2 separate regions of the Homo sapiens genome follow, and region 2 is linked to region 1. The links are contacts of gene promoters, found by promoter capture Hi-C in blood cells and fetal thymus (Javierre and others, 2016). All regions are on one chromosome and are shown on one strand. The core of a region is centred on a gene start or on the middle of the fragment in contact, and the rest is flanking DNA. Distances in the headings are between cores, read along the strand shown.

Region 1 (5,682 bases), core at 2,152-4,651:
TTTGACATGGCTAGATTTCCCCAAAAAGATCATATCTAGATGTGTATGGTCTTGTCACTCAGTGCCAAGGTTTTTTGGTATGGCTCAGTTCACCCCAGTGCCTCCTTGCCAAGTTAACAGTGTGTGGGGAAAGTTGCCAGGCTTTAAAAATGATTGAACTGCAATATGCTTGCTGCTAAAAGAGAATTTGATGTTCATTCTCTAGCTGGCTTTATTGTCTGTCCTTGCCATATAGGTTTTCAGGAAAGTTGCAGGTCACTTGAGTTCAGTGGGTGCTGTTTTTCTGTTGAGATATTGTCTGTTTATTGGATACTTATTTACTTGGGCATAAGATGGCTTTAGGAGGTCGTCTTAATCCGTGCTAGAGTAGACCCTCTTGCCCCTGCATGTCTGTGATTCCTGGTTTGGCACAGAAAAGCTCCCTGTCCAAAGGCAAAATGCATCTTTAATGGTTAGGTAATGGAACCACGCAGGCTTCTGCCATGATATCTCAAATCTAACCAGTGAGGATTCAGTCCTCTGAATTAAGATATTAGGTTATAAGGCCATGTACAAATAAAGGAGATGTTAGTAGATCAAACTGCTTGTGTTGACCCCAGCTACCTGAAGGCCAGGTCTAGGTTAAGAGAGAAGGCAGTTCACTAAAGCAGGAAGGGTGGGGTGGGGTGGGAGTCATCTGTCTGAGGAGGGGAAAGCAGGAGTGAAGTGCCAGGAAAGAGAGTACCTTTGGGGACATGGGTGGAGTGAACGAAGCCTGTGACAGGGAAATGAGTGGACTCTGCAGACAAATGTCTATTTCATGCTTTTTCCTGGGAGGGACACAAACTGTAGTTACATTACATATATGTATTGAATAAAAAGATTGGCATTTCAGTCATGCTTGAAATCTGCATTTGTATTGAAGAATTAAGATATTTGTTTAAGAGATGAAAGCAAAGCTAAATGTTTCTCCCACATTGATGTTCCCATTGAGAAGACTGTTGGACCCACACAAACCTAACACACGTCACAGTTTTGCCTCCTGGCTTTGGCCTCGGTGGCATAGCCCCATATATCTCCTTCTCCTTACTAGATAAGAAGCAGAGGCCCATGGTTAAGGGCAGAGTCACATCTGTAGATGCTGTGACTGTCTTGGATTGGACCATTCCCAGCCCAAGACCCCATCTCTCACATGGTCTCAGCCTTTGGTCCTCAAGAGGCTGGAGGTCAGCGAAGGGGCAGAGACCCTTCTAAGAATCCAAGGGGAGCTATGGACCCCCTCTTCAGAAAAATGCCCAGACTTACAATTTTTGCATAAAATTTCAAGGATGGGGGTGGATATCTTAAGGGCTGTCCATGTGACCCAGGCCAAGAACCCTTGCTCCGGGCACAGGTCACTGTGGGTCACCAGGGAATGTCCCTAAACCCCAGCCTGCCCGTGAAGCTTTTTCCTGCCCATTGATTTTTCGCTTATCGTTCTCCCCATTTGCTAATAGGCACAGTTGCTTGATTTTTGTAGCACCATATGCCCTGAGGTGCTTGTGTGGTAGAAATATTGTCGTAATTTCTGTTTTTATTAAAATCCTCATTTTTCCAAAGCCTGCTTCTCTTTAAAACATATTTTAATTCCATTTTATCTTCAAGTTTGCATACATTTTTGTGGCTGGGCTGGCTCATTTGCAAAAATCTCTGGGGGATGGGGGATCTGAAGATTCTTCTGCTTAAGTCTTATAAATTCTCTCAGCAGTATGAAACCGTTTCTCACATTCATATTTTTCAGAGATGGGGGAACACTGTTCTGCCATTTTTGATGACCTTGAGAGAGTTGTTACTGTTTTATAAGTGAAAATTCGCAGAGATTCAGAGAGGGGAGGCGTGCAGGGGCTCCCAGGAGACAAGTAGGACTTTGTGAGAGAAGGGGAGTGTGGATGTGGATAAGCACGGGGACCTGATTATGGAAAACAGCACTTAGAAAGGATGATAATTATCCATCTCTTTGAATTCCACATCAGAGTAGCGGAATCAACAAACCCTTGACCCTGAAAGGGAAGGAGGTTTTGTGTCTTTAAAACTCCATCAAGACCTGCTTCTTCAAACCCTCCATTCCTTGCAGTGCCTGTCTATGTGGGTGCTTTGTGGTTGCCAGTAGATTGGTATTTACATTGCCATGGACCTCTTTCAGACAGAGTTGACCTGCTGACTACTGCTGCCTTTCCATCTATGTACCCCCAAGTTGGACCGCGATGGGGGTGGGGGGGGGGGTCTTCTCTTTGTGCAGATGGACTGAGCTGCAGTGTGGGTGGATTGAAAGTGTCCTCTAAGATGTTTACTGTCAACATGGTGTATGAAACCAGCTTAACTCTGATATTTACTTGAGGCTGGGTAGGAGAATTGTTTACAAATCACATTGGGAGAGAAAGGGCAAGTTCTCAGAGGCTGTGGGAGAGAAAACAGTCCTAGGTCCTTGTTTAAGGTTAGGGCATGGCTTGCTCAGGATTTGTGCCACCAAGGGGCAGTGTGCCAGGCTCCCATGGCCGTCCTTCTGTGGGCGGGACTTCAGGGCCACCAGTCATCCCGGATGACTCAGCTTCTGGGGCACCTGCACCAGCCTTAATTTCCTCTGCTGGAGCCACTGTCTTTGAGAGGAATTGTCAGACACAGAGGGCATGTGCTGTTGATTTACAGTGGGAAAGGATGGAGGGGTTTGTTTTCACATTTATGTGTGTACTCCGTATCATGCGGCTGGATCTTGTGGAAGACTTTCTGGCTACTAGAAGTCAGGGACAAGCTGGGTCTAATTTTCGAGTAAGGCAGACAGCTGGAGGAGGTGTGGTCCCCGAAGGTCTATAAACACATCACAGTGAGTGTAGCAGTGAGTGGGAAAGATGAGGATTTCCCCTGCAATGGCTTGTGAGCAAATAGGAAATCACAGCTTTAGAAGAATGAATCATTCTTTGCTTCATGAAGCTTATGGCAGCCTCAGTGGAGCAATTGATTTAGTATGCAGTCCATTCTTGGTGAGAACAGCTAATTTCAAGCAGAAAATAATTGCCCGCAAAATGGAGCTACTTCTCCTGTTGAGATGTTTAAGGACTTTGCAGCCCACTCCACCTGTTGGGTACACCATGGTGGTTGGATTTCACTTGGTTTTGATTGTCCTTTTTCTTCCCAAAGCAGAATGCCCAGGCACTACCCTCTCCTCCCCCAGCTGGTGCTGGCATGAGAGGAATTCTGCTAATACAGATTACTGCCCACCGGGTCACTGCAGAGGAAGTTGCAGCTATAGCACCTTTGCCATTGGGAGGGATTTGTGTCTGAGCTCTCTGACTTCCGTAGCGTAGACTGGAAATGGAAGCTCACAGGGAGCTGAGACAGCCACCCACTTTCAAACTGACCTGAAATCCAGAAGAGGCAAAAGGGAGGAGAGCCAGGAGGACAGGCCAGTAGAAGGGAGGCCCTGCTAATCTCAGCATTAGCCATTCAGACTCATGGCAGCGGTGGCCTTGGCACCAGGAGCAGTCACGCAGCAGCACGGGGTGTCATGAGGTGGAGCTGGAGGAGACCCCCAGGGCCACTGGCTGTAAGTGCTGGGCTCCTGTGTGCTTCTACCCCTAACTTCCCAGTGTAGAATCAGGGTAGCTCACAGCTCAGAGACTTCCCTCTCTGGCTCTTCCTCTCAGGGTTAGCATAGGTAAGGATTCCTCAATTATTTCAGCATAATCTAGCAAAGCAACTTGCCAATGACGTCAGATAATACCCATTATGAGGTGGCTAGAGAACTGGGCACATAATAAAAGAAAACTCAGCTTTTGGCTGGGGGAATATCCTGTGGGCTTCACTGAGATCTTCCCAACCATCTCTTTAGAATTGGGGTTATTTAGAGCTGATTGAGAACACCTTAGGAGTATGTCTGTGGAAAACGTCTATTTACGTTGAAGTTTTAAAAATGCCTACCCCAGGAGGGAAGGAACACCGTTATTACCTCTCTTTGGAATGTTGGAAAGGAATGGTCCGTGTGGGTATGTAAGGCCAGACAATTTTAAACACCTTGACCACTAAAATAACCTTTGTATGTTAGAAGTGCCTGTAGATATAAGATGATTCTGTCTAATGAGGTTAGTAAATTGTTCGTTTTTTGCATGGACATTTGGACAAGTCTGTATCCTTTCATGTTTAACATCTTTGAGCTTCTGAATTTCTGTATATTATGTCTGACCTGTTATTGATAATTGGAAAGAAATGTATAATGTTCTGTGCAGAGTGCTTTTGCTTATATGTAAGCAAGCATCATAAGAACATAGGTAAATGTGGAGTGTGGAATGTGGATACTTCTTTCAATAGAATTCTGAGGGCAAGTTAACCTTGTAACCAGAGTCCTTAATACTTGGATACTGGAAAATTTTATGTGCAATAATCCCCTTGCCCAGTTTATTAAGTTGCCTGTTTTCTATGTAATGTGAAAAATTGGAATTGAGTGATTGAATTAATAAACTTGCATCGAGGAAAGCAGGGTATGTTGGCCAGTGTGAATCCCAGTAGTATCATAAAGTTTCAGTTTTGCCTTAAATTTTCATTTGTTGTCTTCCTCCCTAAATTAATGCCAATTCTCAGCATTTTCTTATACCTGCTAGAGTGATCCTAATTGATTTGGGTAGAAATAGTCTTAGAGCACGTTTTTCCATAAATAATTTTAGTCCCTGGATAATCCAACTTTTACTTATAAACAGAAAAATTTATATTAGATATGAAGTGGCCTGGATTGTGCAAGTTAACAGGAGTCTAACTTTGGTAAACTCCTACTTGCTAATAGGCAAAATGAAGGGGGCTCATACCCATATACTATAGTTAGTTTCTTAAAGAACAGGGAGCTGTTTTGTCAGGGGAAGTCCTTACACTCACTAATCAGGGATGACGGGAGAGATGAAAGGGGATATGCAGTGTCCAAGGCACAGGTCCGACCCCCAGGGGACTTGTCTGCCCCGTGGCCAATAGGACTGGGTCACAGAGGAGCTCTGCCCGGGACAGGATTGGGTTTCTTCTGTCATTGCAAAGCATGTGAATTCATACACTTTATTTCTAACTTCTATTGGGCCAGCTGGTGATTTTTATTGATTATTTCATTTTAGCCAAACTCAGGCTCTGAATTGGTTTTGTCTGAAGATGAAAAAAGTGACAATGAAGATAAGGAAGAGACGGAATTGGGCGTCATGGAGGATCAGCGTAGTATAATTCTTCATCTCATTTCACAACTCAAACTTGGAATGGATTTGACCAAGGTAGGTTGGCATGTCCCCTGGATTTGTGGTCAGTTGTTGGGGTTCTGTCTCTATCCTCAAGCCTTCTCTATGCACATTCTTTTCGTTGTGGTGAGATTGGAGAAGAAGAGTGGGGAAAAAGGCCAGCATTGCTTTCAAGTATGGATATTCCAGGTATAATTTGAAAGGACATTTGTACATAAATGGTTATCCTCAGGGCTGGACAGCCCTGCATTTGATCTTGGGAGGAGTTGTTGCTACTCTACAAGGGCAGGGAGAACATCAGAAAAAGCATATGAGATGGTATGGAAAATTCAAGGTACTATTTCTTTGTTTCTTGCTATGTTCTAGAGATAACTGTAGGTGGCCTATAGAGATGGCTATGCACAGTGGCCATAGAGGGAAAAGATGGGGAAGGGAAATGGTGGCACCAGGAATGACGCCACTC
Region 2 (6,178 bases), core at 3,350-5,849, 1.7 Mb after region 1:
GATTATATGTTCACAAGAATCCAGTCTCCATAATGGTCAGTGTCATTTCATTCAATAAATTAGCCTTTTCATTTTGCATCAATTTATTCATTCATTCACATGTTCAAAAATTATTTATTGGTCTTGGCCTACAGAGGACAGCCAAAAAATTATTTACTGGGAGACATCCAGTTTCTCTCAGGATAATGCTGCTTGAATACAAATGTTTCTACTTTACTTACCAAACCCATACAGAGCATTTAGAAAAGAGAGAGAAAGAGAGAGAGAAAAATTACAATCTATGCCTATAGCATTACAAGGAAAGAAAACATATTACAACCTTCAATTTATGTACAATTACCTGAGAAGCCCATGCCAGGGTGAATAGTCAAACATATTACACAGAAAAGAAGTAGATGCAACTGGGAAAAACTAACATCATCATCATCATCATCTCTGTCTCTTTCTCTCTCTGTCTCTGTAATCACTCTGGAGAAGCCAGCTGCCATGTTCTGAGGACACTCAAGCAACCCTATGAAGAAGCCTACATGAAGAGGAACTGAGATCTCCAGCTAACATCCAGAGAACAGAGGTCTCCTGCCAACAGCTTGGAAGAGAATCCCTCAGCCATAGTCAACCCTTTAAGTGACTGCAGCCCTGGCTGACATCTCATTGCCACCTCATGAGAGGCCCTGAGCCAAAATCTCCCCCTTAAACTGCTTTCCAAGTTCCTTTCCCACAGGAACTGTGGTATAATAATTGTTTCTTGCTTTAAGGCACCCGATTCAGGATGATCTATTATACAGCAATAGATGGTAACTAATGTAGGGCGGGTCAAATGGAAAGGATTTGGATGTGCCTACGACCACAAGTATTAGTCTTGCAAGAGTAATGCTTTCTGGAAGAGATGAGCTATCTTAATAGGGAAAGTCTTCCCTTGGAGGCTTGGCAGTGAAGGGAAAGAACAAAGCAAGTTTATAAATTAAGGGTCTAAAAGAAACATGAAAATTACAGAATCGAAACACACAGCCCTCTTCTATTTCACAAACACTACATTTAACAACCTGCGTTTCACTGTGCCAACCAAAAAGTACATTCTTGAACTAAGAAACCTGATAAACCACCTAAATCCCAGACTCCCAACACAGAAACTCATGCTATTATTCACCCAGGAAAATTTAGGACATTTAAAAACAAACAGAAAATGGCAAGCAATAACAATATAAAGCTACTGTAAGAAGAAAACAGAATATGAACATCAAAACTCCTCAGCTAATTAAAATTATGTCACCTGCATGTGAAATCATAAAATGGAAAACTTGTAAAACAGTACTCTGATATAAATTAAATATCTTTAAACGAACACTTGTAAATATGAAAGACCTTAAATTAGACAAAAATTCAGACTAGAAATGGGCCAAAATAGGAAGATGTGATATGAGTGTTGACAAATCCTAGGAAGTAAATTGAAGAAAAATTCAACATTATCTCAGAAATAAAGACTAACATGACAAGGCTGAACACAGTGGTCCACGCCTGTAATCCCAGTAGTTTGGGAGGCCAAGGTGGGTGGATCACTTGAGGTCAGGAGTTCGAGACCAGCCTGGCCAACATGGCAAAACCCCATCTCCACTAAAAATACAAAAAACTAGCCAGGCGTGATGGCGGTTGCCAGTAGTTCCAGCTACTTGGGAGGCTGAGGCACAAGAATTGCTTGAAGGGAGGCAGAGGTTTCAGTGAGCCAAGATCGCGCCACCGCACTCCAGCCTGGGTGACAGAGCCAGACCTTGTCTCCAAAAGGGGAAAAAAAAGACAAAATGACAAGTAACCTAGGTAGTGAAGTATCAACTAAAATAGAAAAGACATTAAGGAGAGGAATGAAGCAGACGAGAAAAAGAAAGAGTGATAAAGTGATACAGAAGATAGGCAGAAGATCCAAGAAAAACAATGAAACAAACTAATGTTTAAAACTAACTATTTAAAACTATAATCAAAGAAAACTTTCCAGAAATAGAAAATCTCAATCTATTTATTGAAAGGGGTCAATATTCCTGGAGAATCAAGGTTGGGACACATCCTAGAGAACAGACTGACAGGCTTTAATGCTATAGAAATAAAAAAATTGGTTATTCCAGAATAAAAAGACCACATTTCTCTCTCTCTCTCTCTTTCTTTCTTTCTTTCTCTCTTTCTTTCTCTCTTTCTCTCTCTTTCTTCCCTTCCCTTCCCTCCCCTCCCCTTCCCTTCCCTTTCTTTCCTTTCTTTTCTTTTCTTTCCCCTCCCTCCCTCCCTCCCTTTTCTTTCTTTTCCTTCCTTCCTTCCTTCCTTCCTTCCTTCCTTCCTTCCTTCCTTCCTTCCTTCCTTCCTTTCTTTTCTTTCTTTCTTTCTCTCTCTCTCTCTGTCCTTCCTTCCTTCCTTCCTTCCTTTCTTCCTTCCTTCCTACTGTGTTACCCAGGCTGGTTTCAAATTTCTGAGCTCTAGTGATCTTCCTGCCCCAGCTCCCAAAGTGCTAGGATTATAAGCAGGAGCCACCACGCTGTGCCAAAAAGACCACATTTCTTATGAAACATAAGATCAGTAGGATCTTGACAGTAATAAGCAAAATAAATAATAGTGGTACAAGAAATTTCAGTAAATTCAAGGAAAAGATATATGACTCACAATTTTACATCCAGCCAAATGTCTTTCAAGTATTGAAACTGTAGGAAAGCAAATTTAAACATTCAAAGACTTGAGGGATATTATACTCCAGACCCTTTCTTGAAGGGTGGACCAAAGGAAGACCTTCATCCAATGGGGATATGGCAAGAAAAACCTGAACAGAAGGAGTAAAGTAAACATTGGCTAGACATTTTTTTAAGATCTAGCAATACAACAAAGCTGAAGACAAGGGAGGAACAAGAGTACATAAGGTTATGTGACCTGATCTAGTAGAAATAAACATAAAAAAGAAGAAAGAGGAAAATTGAATAAATGTATTGGTTGCTGAATAGATAACATGTGGGAGCCAAAGGATAATATTTAAATTTCATAAATCAAATAGTAGAGTACATAAGATGAAAATATAATGATAATGATGATAATAATGATAATACTAATAATAAAGTGTTTATTTCTACCAACTATTAGATAACATCAATAACAGTTTATTGTTTTTGTTATTATCATTACTTTATTTAGCCACATAGTATTTTGAAATAATAATAATTGGGTGCCTTTAAATAGGGCATATACTGTCCAATTCCCACTGGGTCTGCACTCCTATAATGTCACTTATTCACATTCCCTGCCGAGTCCCAGAAGGCATTTTAGTTGAGGCCATGGGGATACTTTATACATAGCGAACAAAATACATGTAGATTTTGATTCAAGAAGCTGACACATCTATCTATATCTGATTAGCATTCATGATCCTGATAAAATTTGAGGCACTGAGAAAGTGAGTTCCTACATATGAAAGCCTGAGGTTTGGAGGAAGGATTTTGAAGAATTTACTAAGATGAACAGAATACTACTTCATTCAGTCAACCTTCCTTGGCAACACCATATATATAGATATCCGTATTTCCAATGGTGCCTTTAAGCTTATTTGATTATGGTGGATTGAGATATAATATTATCTTCATTTATAGAATGAGGTAATTTTATTACTTATCATGAAACCTGGAAAAAAATGTTTTTGTAGTGTGATGCCAAAAGAGAGTAACAAAATCTTCATAAATAATTTTTCTAAACAAGCAATTATAGATGACCTACCTACTATGTAAAGTAGGATGTTGTGAGAAATTCTATATATTCAGATGAGGACACAGCCAATAATTATGCCAAATTCTAAAATAATAGGTTAAATACACATACATCAACTAAAGGATGTGCTCTGATGAGGGGGTAATAATTCTTAACATGTGCTGCAAATAAGTTGAATGAGCTTAGATAATTTATTAAAATAAATCTTGAAGGTCAAGGTACCAGATTCCTGCTGTATCCCTCTTACCTCCATCCCCTCAGCTTCATCTCTGATGTCCACTGTGGCTTTTGCCTAGTTCCATATGAAATTTAACTCATCTTGCTCTCCTAGCAGCTCACTCTTAAGTGTGTATAGCACATCTTTTGCTTTTCGGCTGAGGGTTTCTCTTTTTGGCATACGTAGAAGTACAGAGGAGTTAGTACACCCTAGGGCAACCTTCAGTGGGTACTGGAGTTGATAAATGTTTCTTTTTCGAGATGATCTGGTGGGAAATTCTGAAAGTTGTTTTGGAAGCTCCTCAGAAGGTCTGTTTAGATGAAGTTGCCCATGTTGTTTGCCAACTCAATAGCACACTCCTTTTTTCTCCTTCTTTTACACGTTCTCTGGCCCTGTTTCTAGGAATCAACTCCAAATATAACTACCTGCACACCAGACCTTGTTACTAGGTTTTAGGAGATTCAGGTGAGGCCAGTCATCTAGCAAAATGTAAAGAGTCTAGCGATTATGGAAACCAGTATTAAAACTTCTCAAAAAAACAAAATAGAATTACCATATGATCCAGCAATCTCACTGTTGGGTATATATCCAAAAGAAAGGAAATTGTATATTGAAGAGAGATCTGCATTCTCATGTTTATTGCAGCACAATTCACAATAGCCAACATATGGAATCAACCTAAGTGTCCATCAACAAATGAACAAATAAAGAAAATGTGTCATATATACACAACAAAATATTATTCAGCCATAAAAAGAATTGAATCTTGTCATTCTCAGCAACATAGATAGAACTAGAGGTCATTAAGTTTAATAAGCCAGGTATACAAAGACAGATATCTCATATTCTCCCTCAGGTGTGGGGCCTAAAAAAGTGGATCTCATGGACATAGAAAGTAGAACGGTGGTTACCAGAGGCTGGAAAGGGAAGGGAGAAGGGAGGAGAAAGACAAGTTAGTGAATGGGGATGAAAATACTATTAGACAGAAGGAATAAGTTCTAGTATTTGATAGTAAAGTAGGAAAATTATAGTTAACCATAATTTGTTATATATTTCAAAATAGCTAGAAGGAATGTAATGTTCCCACATAAAGATAAATGTTTGCAGTGATGGATATCCCAGTTACCTTGATTAGATCATTACATACATGATTATTGTATATACGCATGAAAATATCACATGTACCCCCAAAATATGTACAACTACTATATATCAACTGAAAAAAAATATTTTTAGGTCCCATCCTCCCTCATAAGTGGGAGAGAAGAACTTCCTTTGCTTTGTTGATAATTCTATCCCAAATGCCTTAGGCTACTTCTTGATGCATTCTTAATGATCTACCTGTAATAAGCAGCCTTGGGTCTCTGATTCTCAACATGTGCAATTCTCCCTTTTGAGTACAGTGATTCTTACATGAGCATGCATTACAAAATTATTTGTGGAGCTTTATGAAAATTCATCATCCTGGACTTCATCCTAAAACTATAGTGTTAGAATTTCCTAAGGTTCTTCTGATATTCAGCCATGATTTATAATCATTGGTCTAGAGAGCCCAATCTACTCTTTGTCCACCACCATCATTTATCCATTTAATTATAATTTATTAACCTTCAACTATGTATCAGGCACTGTGCTAGGAACTGGGGATAAGATAATAACTAGAACTAGGTCCATTTGGGCATCCTAAGCTTATCTTGGTGTATAGCCATGCCACCCTGAATGCACCTGATCTCGTCTGAACTTATCTTGGATGTCACTGCCTCTATAAACCCTTTACCAGACACTTTTACTACCATGAGCTTTAACTTTCCATTCCCTCTGCCCATAATTAGAGGTCTCATTCTTAATTCTTCTCCAATAACTATGATTCACCTTGCTACAAAATTTGCTGCATTGCTCTGAAATGATTTACAATTCTGTTTATTCCACTCTGAGCTCTCCAAGTAGAGCAATTGTATTCATTATTATGACATTTTTGGTAATGTTAAAAGGAAAAAAGGGAGGGATAGAGAAAAAGAAGGAAGGGAAATAGTAAGGAAAGCACATTTACTATTGTGAATGTCCATGACATCATCCTTAAACTTGGCCCTTTGCAGAATGCTTTAATTCAGATAGAAAGTAAACAAAAATAAATATTATGTGTTTGCAAGTTGGGCTCTCTCATATTTAATTCTCTCAACAGTCTTGTCTTAGACATATTATCATTTCCATTTTGAAGATAAGTAACCAGATATT

Evidence for each region. The method cuts DNA at HindIII sites, captures the fragments that hold promoters and counts their contacts. A CHiCAGO score of 5 or more calls a contact.
Region 2: a contact is called between a fragment that was not itself captured here and the fragment with the promoter of OSBPL10-AS1 in region 1, in 1 of 17 cell types (non-activated CD4 T cells). The highest score is 5.1, in non-activated CD4 T cells.

What each region holds. Positions count from the first base shown.
Region 1 is chr3:31,701,932-31,707,613 of GRCh38, reverse strand. It overlaps OSBPL10-AS1 (OSBPL10 antisense RNA 1), which reads right to left and starts at 3,401. Exons shown (of 5, transcript NR_049771.1): 1 at 3,375-3,401. OSBPL10 (oxysterol binding protein like 10) reads left to right here. Exons shown (of 12, transcript NM_017784.5): 7 at 5,106-5,255. It overlaps LOC124909360 (a long non-coding RNA gene), which reads left to right and starts at 5,264. Exons shown (of 2, transcript XR_007095858.1): 1 at 5,264-5,682. The HindIII fragment of the contact is 3,023 bases long and covers 2,949-5,682 here.
Region 2 is chr3:30,030,759-30,036,936 of GRCh38, reverse strand. No RefSeq gene overlaps it. Among named protein-coding and RNA genes, the nearest start is that of RBMS3-AS1, 100 kb to the right of the region's middle. The HindIII fragment of the contact is 2,068 bases long and covers 3,566-5,633 here.